Regions from separate parts of the Homo sapiens genome. Here region 2 is linked to region 1. Evidence: promoter capture Hi-C in 16 types of primary human blood cells and fetal thymus (Javierre and others, 2016). All regions are on one chromosome and are shown on one strand. Each heading gives the region's core, a stretch centred on a gene start or on the middle of the fragment in contact. The rest is flanking DNA. Distances are from core to core; before and after follow the strand shown. Region 1 holds the start of UGT1A6 (UDP glucuronosyltransferase family 1 member A6). Region 2 holds the start of UGT1A1 (UDP glucuronosyltransferase family 1 member A1).

What was found. The method cuts DNA at HindIII sites, captures the fragments that hold promoters and counts their contacts. A CHiCAGO score of 5 or more calls a contact.
Region 2: the fragment with the promoter of UGT1A1 here is called in contact with the fragment with the promoter of UGT1A6 in region 1 in 1 of 17 cell types (neutrophils); the score reaches 8.2 in neutrophils.

What each region holds. Positions count from the first base shown.
Region 1 is chr2:233,690,150-233,695,376 of GRCh38, forward strand. It overlaps UGT1A6 (UDP glucuronosyltransferase family 1 member A6), which reads left to right and starts at 2,741. Exons shown (of 5, transcript NM_001072.4): 1 at 2,741-3,716. The coding sequence starts at 2,856. All of the region lies in intron 1 of UGT1A8 (UDP glucuronosyltransferase family 1 member A8), which reads left to right. All of the region lies in intron 1 of UGT1A10 (UDP glucuronosyltransferase family 1 member A10), which reads left to right. All of the region lies in intron 1 of UGT1A9 (UDP glucuronosyltransferase family 1 member A9), which reads left to right. It also overlaps UGT1A7 and UGT1A. RefSeq lists enhancers at 879-1,486, 1,487-2,093. The HindIII fragment of the contact is 26,798 bases long and covers 1-5,227 here.
Region 2 is chr2:233,757,994-233,763,220 of GRCh38, forward strand. It overlaps UGT1A1 (UDP glucuronosyltransferase family 1 member A1), which reads left to right and starts at 2,277. Exons shown (of 5, transcript NM_000463.3): 1 at 2,277-3,158. The coding sequence starts at 2,295. All of the region lies in intron 1 of UGT1A8 (UDP glucuronosyltransferase family 1 member A8), which reads left to right. All of the region lies in intron 1 of UGT1A10 (UDP glucuronosyltransferase family 1 member A10), which reads left to right. All of the region lies in intron 1 of UGT1A9 (UDP glucuronosyltransferase family 1 member A9), which reads left to right. It also overlaps UGT1A7, UGT1A6, UGT1A5, UGT1A4, UGT1A3 and UGT1A. RefSeq lists a silencer at 1,714-1,888. The HindIII fragment of the contact is 5,043 bases long and covers 335-5,227 here.

The DNA.
Region 1 (5,227 bases), core at 1,491-3,990:
TCATTGACATGTAGTTATGTTTTTATAGCCATTTCATAAAATATTCATAAATTCAATGTTTGCCATTTTAGTATTCTAGATTCAGCAAATTTCTTATTTTAAGTCTCAAACATTTTGCAGGTCCTTTGAAATCTTGCAGGTGGGTCCTGGCTCCATTACTTATGGGTCGTAGGTCATACAAGGGTCTGAAAGAGTTAGCACCTTAGAAGCAAACCTCTCCATAGGGTCCACGTTTCCAGACCTTCCTATTCCCAACATGAAATTACCTTCATGCACATCTTTGGGTCTCTCCTCTATTCAAAATGCCAGCTATCCTCCATTTACTTTTTGGGAAATCTGCTCTTGCCAACAGAGATTTGTTTTATCTTAGGATCTACTTCTTTCACCCCACTGGAATATGTCCCAAGCCTGAGTCATTCAGCCTGCAGCAATCCCTGAGAAAAAAAAAAAATCGGCCTTTGCCTGGACACTCAAGTGATACCTGAGGACACCTTGACTCCTACAGCACCAACCAGGGCAGGCCTGGGTCTCCAGCGGAGCTACTCTTTAGGGATCGTCATTATGACGAACAGACATGCCAGATTCCTCTGGCTAGTGTCCAGTGCAGACATACACACACACACACATACACACACACACACACACACACACCATTCTTAGTACAGTCAAAGCTCACAGGAGAAAGAAAAATGTTTTCTAATACCTTCTTAATTTGCAAGAAGGTGTTAGGAATTCAAGGGATGGTATGCATAGTGATGTTAGTTTCATTTCTTCAGCTCCTTCCTCCAACTCATGTTCTGTAGGGACTTCTGGGACTAAGAACAGGACCCACATATGAGCAACAGGATTTTCAGAGCAAGGCTGTGGTTGGAAGGGCTCAGACCAACGTCCACAGCAGAGTGGAGGTCTAGTATAAAGAATGTGAAGTTTGTAGCATCTCTTGATCCCGCTATTCCTACATGCTTGCTTAAGCCATTCTTCCTCTAGATGAACTGTTCTTTGAAGGAAACCTGCCTAATGTCTGCCTGCTCAAGAAGGTGGACCTGAGCTCTGTTCCCTTTGCAACCTTCCTGGAGTCTTATTGCTATCTAGATGAACTCAAAGCAAGATGCTGCCGCCCCCATGACTTTGATCATTGTAAGCTGCCAATCCTCTTGGGAGGCTGCTCCCAGCTTGGACTGAGCTGAGTCTTCGCATGCCTTGAACAATGAATTTGCATCCTGGTTATGTTCCCCATGGGGGCCAGCCCTGTCCTTGGAGTGGCCCCTCTAATCATGTTGCTCAGGCTTCTTCTCCCTTCCTGGGCCCCAGAACACCTCCGGTGCCAAACTTGTGGGTGGGAACAGGAACTCGCGTGCCAGCCAGGTGTGCATGACTAGCTCTGGGCAAGTCTGTTCTAGTAATTCAAGGTACCACCTCTCACTGGGACAGCCTAGTTTCTACACAGGTCTTGCTCTGGGACCGCCCTCAGCAGTGTGGTTAGCAGGCAGGGCCAGTGTGACCCTCCCTTTCTGGGCCTCAGTTGAGAAACCTGAAGCTCAGGAGAGGAGTCACTCCCCTGGCAGATGGGTGGCTGGGCCAGAAGCAGATACCAGGCTTTCTGACTCCTGCTCTAGGATTCTCACCACGTACTGGCTAGACTTATACTTCTCAAATCTTAATTTCCTAAAGGCAAGTAACAGTTTGAATGTTGTTATATTGTGATGTATAATAAGAAATATATGTTTGTCTTTGTTTCCTGGACACAGCTCCTGAAACCATAAGTGGTGGGAGCGATAAACGTGAACAAAGAATCTTTTGTTATTCAAAACAGATCCCTTTCGATCACACCTAAGTTTATGTAAAGGAGATGTAAAGTCTCTAAGGATGAGGGCTAGTTGCCAGGGAACAAAACCCTTGCGATTAGAGGGAAGAAAGGAGAGAGAGATTGAAGATTGATTTGATCACCGATGGGCAACAATCTAATCAATCATGCCTACTATGTATGGAAGCCTACATAAAAACTCAGAAGGGCAGGGTTCAGAGAGCTTTCAGGTTGCTGAAGGTGTGGAGGGTGGGGCACCCAGAGATGGCAGATGGGGCTCCATGGCCATACCCCCATATCTTGTTCTTTGTACTTTTTCCTCTGGCTATTCATCCGTATTGTTTGCAATATCCTTTGTAATAAACCAAACCTAGTAAATAAACTGTTTTCTTCAGTTCTGTGAGCCATTCTAGCAAATGATTGACTCCAAGAAAGAGGGTGTGTGAACCTCTGATTTTTGCCAAGTCAGACAGAAGTTGTGGGTAACCTGGGGACCTACTACTTGCAATTGGTGTCTGAAGTGAGGGCAGTCTTGTAGGACTGAGCCCTTAACCTGTGGGGTCCGTGCTAACTCAGAATTCAGTTCAGAATGGAATTGAATTGTAGGATACCCAGCTGGTGTTAGAGAATAGGTCCGTGTGCAAGAAAAATTCCCGCACATCATGGACATAACAGACAACGTCAATGATGAGGAATCCAGCAAGTTCGGGATAGAGAATTGGCAGGGGGTCCTCAGGGGTCTCTCCAAGTCATCTTCAAAGTGTTGCTATAACTTTTCAGAGAGGGAGAAGCAGACTTGTGGAGCTGAAGAGAAACACCCAGAAGCTCAGGTGAAAGCTGACACGGCCATAGTTGGTTCATATTAACCATGTGATTAAAATGGTTAAATATTAATTTGGGTTCTTACATATCAAAGGGTAAAATTCAGAGCAAGGGAGAGGTAGACAGGACCTGTGAAAAGCAGTGGTTAGTTTAGGGAAAATACCTAGGAGCCCTGTGATTTGGAGAGTGAAAACTCTTTATTACCGTTGTTACTTTAACTCTTTCCAGGATGGCCTGCCTCCTTCGCTCATTTCAGAGAATTTCTGCAGGGGTTTTCTTCTTAGCACTTTGGGGCATGGTTGTAGGTGACAAGCTGCTGGTGGTCCCTCAGGACGGAAGCCACTGGCTTAGTATGAAGGATATAGTTGAGGTTCTCAGTGACCGGGGTCATGAGATTGTAGTGGTGGTGCCTGAAGTTAATTTGCTTTTGAAAGAATCCAAATACTACACAAGAAAAATCTATCCAGTGCCGTATGACCAAGAAGAGCTGAAGAACCGTTACCAATCATTTGGAAACAATCACTTTGCTGAGCGATCATTCCTAACTGCTCCTCAGACAGAGTACAGGAATAACATGATTGTTATTGGCCTGTACTTCATCAACTGCCAGAGCCTCCTGCAGGACAGGGACACCCTGAACTTCTTTAAGGAGAGCAAGTTTGATGCTCTTTTCACAGACCCAGCCTTACCCTGTGGGGTGATCCTGGCTGAGTATTTGGGCCTACCATCTGTGTACCTCTTCAGGGGTTTTCCGTGTTCCCTGGAGCATACATTCAGCAGAAGCCCAGACCCTGTGTCCTACATTCCCAGGTGCTACACAAAGTTTTCAGACCACATGACTTTTTCCCAACGAGTGGCCAACTTCCTTGTTAATTTGTTGGAGCCCTATCTATTTTATTGTCTGTTTTCAAAGTATGAAGAACTCGCATCAGCTGTCCTCAAGAGAGATGTGGATATAATCACCTTATATCAGAAGGTCTCTGTTTGGCTGTTAAGATATGACTTTGTGCTTGAATATCCTAGGCCGGTCATGCCCAACATGGTCTTCATTGGAGGTATCAACTGTAAGAAGAGGAAAGACTTGTCTCAGGTTGGTGGGTTTATTTCTTTTGGACTGCCTTGTTTCTTCCAGGCTCTGTCCTCCCTCACTCATTTGGCTCCTTGAGCCGACTGTCCCTTGGAGGATTTCCTGGAGAAACGGTGGGGGGAAGTGATACCCGGCTCGGAGCAGCGGGAACACATAGGAGACCTGAGGCTGAAGTGATACAGAGGCATTCGGATGAAGACAGGGCTCATGCTTGGCAAGAGTAGGAGATTTGCTTAGTTGGATAATCTGGGACAGTCACATACTCATTGAATGAGCCTTAGAAATGTCCCAGTTCAAACAGAGGTGAAGGCTTGACTAAGGGAACAGGTCCAGGTTAAAATCCATTTTCCCAACTCTGTCCCATGCTTTGTCTCTGGACCTTGAGCCAGGGACCAGCGAACTACAGCCTGTGAGCCCAATCTGCCCAAAGGCCTGTTTTTTGTTTTTTTTTTTCCTTTTATGTTGAGACCTGTTTTTATATGGCCCAGAGCTAAGAATGGTTTTTGTAGTTTTAAAACAATTTAACAATGAAGAATATGTGCCACAGAAGTATTTGGTCTGCAAAGCCTACACATTTACTGACTGGCCTTTTCAGCAAAAGGGGTATGGCCTCTGACCTAAGACAAGTGTTTACAGATGCCCTCCTGACATGTAGGAAAAGGGCCCAGAGTTACTTTGGAAAATAAAAATCTGTGAGTTTTAAATTTCAATGTAAATATTTACAACTTTGAAGGGCTTCAGGCAACTCCCTCTATCTTTTATGCCTCAATTTTCTTTTCCAGTTCCTTTTTTATCAGAGAGAAAGCCTCAAACAGGTCCCAAAGACCCTTACCTCTCTTCTTTACACCTGCTGATTTCTCTGTTAACAATTTGAACAGTTGGCAGTAGCCACTGTGAAAAGGCAAGGGTGAGGGGATGGGGATAACTGAAATGGTTCCAGGGATTCTGGGGCATGAAATAAAAACATAGAATGTCAGGATTCTTTTAATTGGGACATAATATAGTTGTACACATTTGGGGGGTTCATGTGATATTTTGATACACGTATACAATGTGCGATGATCAAATCAGGGTAATTGAGATATCCATCACCTTGAACATTTATTCCTTCCTTATGTTGGGAACATTCCCATTCTTCATTTCTAGCTATTTTGAACTGCAGTATACATTCTTGTTAACCATAGTCACCCTACTGTGCTATCGCACTTTGGACTTACTCATTCTATCTAATGGTGTTTTTGTGCCCATTAACCAACCCTTTTCTTTTCTTTTTTTTTTTTTTGAGACAGAGTCTCACTCTGTCATCAGGCTGGAGTGCAGTGGTGCGATCTCAGCCCACTGCAACCTCCACCTCCTGGGTTCAAGCGATTCTCCTGCCTCAGCCTCCTGAGTAGCTGGGACTATAGGCATGTGCCACCATTCCCAGCTAATTTTTGCATTTTTAGTAGAGGCGGGGTTTCACCACGTTGGCCAGGATGGTCTCAATCTCTTGACCTCGTGGTCCGCCCACCCCA
Region 2 (5,227 bases), core at 1,027-3,526, 67 kb after region 1:
TTGCCTGGTCATGAGTTTGTCTCTGTCTACCTGACCCCTCCTTTCAGGCAAGGACCATTTCTAACTTGACTTTCTGGGCCTAGTTCCTAGCATAGTGACTGCCATCCAGTAGGGCTCACACGTTCCATAAATATTTGGCAGATGAGGGAATTAGCAATGGGTTCTGCTTTGGTTTCAGAGCAGATATTAATTGGATTGCTTAGTAGTGGTTCTCTGTTGTAATTCATGAGCATGAATGTGGATTGCCCACTATTCAGATTAGTAAGTATTTCTTGGTCAAGGGCAGAGCTGTGGCCACAAACCATCCAGGTACACAGCAGAAGCAGCCTCAAAAAGCTTGGAAGCTCTGCATGATGCAGGAAAGTCATAAAATCATTACAGTGGTGACTTATGTGTTTATAGCCCCTTTACTGTCTATAATCTGCAAATGAACTCACACAGCATTGGGACTTTGGAAGAATTATCACCCTTAAGGTTTAAATTAAACTGTGAATTTCAGAATTTCTAATAAGGACACAACAAAGAGTGAAAGCATTGCTATGTCTATTCTGCTTGCCCAGAATCTTGGTCCTAAAAAATGAAGAGTGTTTGGGTGTGGGGAGGAGCTTCAGTGTGCATGTGCATGCAAAGTACCTACTCTAAGGAGAAGAATGAGAGGGTACCCTAATTACCTGTTAATATGTCCCATAGGACACCAAAACTCTAGTTAGCTGTTTCTCTATGATCCTCTAAGCACATCCCCAAGTATGGCTGGCCAGTGATGTGTATGGTTCAAATGTTGGGATCTGTGCAGTTATCTTGGAATTGTATAGTACAGCAGTATATCCCCCCCAAAAAGAGTGTAATACTTCCAATTCTGGCTGCACAATACTTGCCCCATAGTCCATGGTCAATAAATACAAATTTGAGTTGTTTTTGCTCATCTTTCCCTTTTGACTTCAAATCAGTCATCAGAATTTCCCCAAATGCCTTTCCCCTGGATCTTGGGCCAGTGGAATGAGTACAATTTAACTTAATTGAATTTGCTTATCTATTTGGTTTCCTGTTGTGAACAAAAGTTCTCTGAAAAGGAATTTGGAAGAAAGAGACTTTGTTCTAGTGAACAGTTTGCAAACCAGGGAGTTACAGCCTCTGGTACGCAATGAAGGTGAGTTCCACAGAACACAAGGCAGGCAGGTTTCACGGCAAAAAGTTCCTTCCCAGGTTCCCAATCAGGTCCATTTATGCAAATGAAGGATGGAAACTTGCTTAGTTCTTATTGGTCACTGCAGCTGCATTCTGATTGGTTGATGAAGCTGAGCCCTGAGTGGCTGAGGTGGGTGAGCTTTAATTGGTTGGTTCAGGTGAGCGCTGAAAATCTCAACTATAAAAAGGTACAGGTTTTCAGGATACTCAGAGTAACCGTGTGACCTGTAGTAAGCAAAGGGCCAGTTGGCTCTATTTTAAATCCAGGCCCAGTTAGCCACTCAAGATCTATCTTACAGGACTGGCTCTTTCAGGTTCACACTAATAAAGGCCTGTCCTTGGGGAAGACTTCTGTTCACATGCGCTCCAGTGAATTTCCCTTTCTGGTCATTCTCTACCCCAGCACGCCCCCCACCCCCGACCCGCCCCACCCACCCACCTGTTCATTTCCTTCTTAGCATGCTTCACGATTTCTAAGTTCCTGCTCATGTGTTTAAATTGTGAGTCTGGCTCACCTCATGGCGCGTGCTCGTGTGGTGGGCTCTGCTGCAGCCTCAAGACCCCACACTGTGCTGGACTCAATAAATATTGTTGGACGAAGGAATGAAACACATGATACAAGTGAGCAGGCAGTACCGGGGGAGCTGTGGAGTGGGCACTCTTACAGGTTTCCATGGCGAAAGCGGGGGTACAGTTGTGTTCTTTTCTTTCTAAAAGGCTTTCTAAAAAGCCTTCTGTTTAATTTCTGGAAAAGAAGCCTAACTTGTTCACTACATAGTCGTCCTTCTTCCTCTCTGGTAACACTTGTTGGTCTGTGGAAATACTAATTTAATGGATCCTGAGGTTCTGGAAGTACTTTGCTGTGTTCACTCAAGAATGTGATTTGAGTATGAAATTCCAGCCAGTTCAACTGTTGTTGCCTATTAAGAAACCTAATAAAGCTCCACCTTCTTTATCTCTGAAAGTGAACTCCCTGCTACCTTTGTGGACTGACAGCTTTTTATAGTCACGTGACACAGTCAAACATTAACTTGGTGTATCGATTGGTTTTTGCCATATATATATATATAAGTAGGAGAGGGCGAACCTCTGGCAGGAGCAAAGGCGCCATGGCTGTGGAGTCCCAGGGCGGACGCCCACTTGTCCTGGGCCTGCTGCTGTGTGTGCTGGGCCCAGTGGTGTCCCATGCTGGGAAGATACTGTTGATCCCAGTGGATGGCAGCCACTGGCTGAGCATGCTTGGGGCCATCCAGCAGCTGCAGCAGAGGGGACATGAAATAGTTGTCCTAGCACCTGACGCCTCGTTGTACATCAGAGACGGAGCATTTTACACCTTGAAGACGTACCCTGTGCCATTCCAAAGGGAGGATGTGAAAGAGTCTTTTGTTAGTCTCGGGCATAATGTTTTTGAGAATGATTCTTTCCTGCAGCGTGTGATCAAAACATACAAGAAAATAAAAAAGGACTCTGCTATGCTTTTGTCTGGCTGTTCCCACTTACTGCACAACAAGGAGCTCATGGCCTCCCTGGCAGAAAGCAGCTTTGATGTCATGCTGACGGACCCTTTCCTTCCTTGCAGCCCCATCGTGGCCCAGTACCTGTCTCTGCCCACTGTATTCTTCTTGCATGCACTGCCATGCAGCCTGGAATTTGAGGCTACCCAGTGCCCCAACCCATTCTCCTACGTGCCCAGGCCTCTCTCCTCTCATTCAGATCACATGACCTTCCTGCAGCGGGTGAAGAACATGCTCATTGCCTTTTCACAGAACTTTCTGTGCGACGTGGTTTATTCCCCGTATGCAACCCTTGCCTCAGAATTCCTTCAGAGAGAGGTGACTGTCCAGGACCTATTGAGCTCTGCATCTGTCTGGCTGTTTAGAAGTGACTTTGTGAAGGATTACCCTAGGCCCATCATGCCCAATATGGTTTTTGTTGGTGGAATCAACTGCCTTCACCAAAATCCACTATCCCAGGTGTGTATTGGAGTGGGACTTTTACATGCGTATATTCTTTCAGATGTATTACTTTGGATCGATTAACTAGCCCCAGATATATGCTGAGCAAGCATTCTGAGATAATTTAAAATGCCCTCTTTTGTTAATTTTTGACTCCTAGGTTTGAGTCTGTCTTTGGCATCATCTTCTGGATGATTTCTTGGTATCTGAGATTTCGGGAAAGCATTCCTTGGACATTTTACTCTGTGTGCTCCAGTGGATAGTAATCAATTAGAAACAACAAGCTGTTAAATGCCATAGGCACAGAATGCTGGGTTTGGGGCACCCTGCAGAAAACTCAGTTGAAGCCTGCACCTTGCCCTGGATTCAGTCAGGCAGGCAATGTTCAGGACTGATGAAATCATTCTTTGATGATGATAGATCCTGGAAATGAAAGTTGCCTTTGTGACCCTGGTTAAAGCTCCAGTTTCTAAATATTCTGATAAGAAGCTAAATCCTGCAGTCCGTTCTCTTCTAATGAGTGAATCACCAGACAGTCAGGTTCTGACATGATACAGAAAGGTTGTAGGTTTCATTCTCAAGCTATTAGGTTTATTTTTCCCCTACAGAGTTTGAAGTATGCAAAAAGTAGCATTCACATCCTCATCGAAATCTCAGCAGAGGATAGAAAAGAACAGGAGAGGCTCCTTCAGATGGAGCGTTAGGGAATTACTCTTTGAGGAGGTGACATTTCAGAGAGCGTTCATTCACTTATCCTGCAAAGATTGGCTGAGGATCTACTGGCAGCCCAGGCACTTCCCAGGTGCTGCGTCTGGCTCCCATTAAGGGGACTGATATCACCTTCGGAGGTGACCTTATTTCCACTATACCTCCAATGTGATTTGTATTTTATTTTTTTTAATTTTCTGTGCATTTTCCTTCATAGCACATCAAATATGGCAGCCATTTCACTTAGATAGTTGTTGATTGTCCGCTTCACATCATGAGCCATGTGGGGACCTGTGTGACTTTGCATTAATCACATCCACTGTATGCGGCGTCCTCAACACCTGCCAATGGGTCTGCATGTATTTGGCGCCCCATAAATCTCAGCACCTAAGGCACAGAATAGGCACCCACCGAATATGTGTTACATTAATGAATGAGAAGAAAGGTGCCAACCGAGGTCTAGTTAATGGGTCGAGAGTAATCCACAATAGCTCTTTTTAGTTCTTTGTACTCCAGCTATTACATACCAATATGTATATAGAAACATATGTAAAATTTTTTGGTTGCTTTTTCTACAAAATAGAGTAACAGTGTATTCCCACTGCCCACTTACCGATAATGTCATGGATATCACTCCAGTTTTAAATGCTATTACTTTTTAAACTATGAAATAGTATTTCATGGTACTTGTGTACCACAGTGTATTCTGCTGGAGATCTAGTCTAGTTCCCCACAGAGGAACATTACAATTTGTATTCCAGGAGTTTTGTTGTTGTGACCTCAAACACTTCCTTTAAAAAGATAAGCTATTTTGTAGTTTAAAAAACATTTGTTCTGTTTCTTTCTCATTCATCTTTTCTTAAGTATTTTACACGGTTTTTTTTTTTTGGTCACTACTGTGAATGTGTTATTTTTTTGCATTTCTATCTCTAGCTGATTATCTACTCATTACTCAGCTATCTCATCAAAATATTGATTTTCATAATAAAAAATAATAGGCAGTCATTTGCTGATAAAGAAATTTTGGTTTCTTCTCTTATAAATTCCATGCCAAATATCAGGGCTATTGAATTTATTAGAATCTCTAAAAACAGTTGAATAATTCTGGCAATAGGAAAGATGCCCGTCTTGCTGCTATTTTAGTGGAAATTGATTATCATTTCATTATTTTGCATTATGTTAGCCATTGTTTTCTGAACAGGCTTTATTGATTTAGATAATTTCCTTCTTTGCGTGAGGATGTTTGTAGGAGAGGCACCGAACTTTATCAGCTGCCTTTCTGGCATTTATTGATATAACCATAAAAGTCTAAGTGGTGAACTGTGTTGACTACATATTTGTTGTTGCCTTGTTTGGTGCAGTCAGGCTTAGGTGTGAAA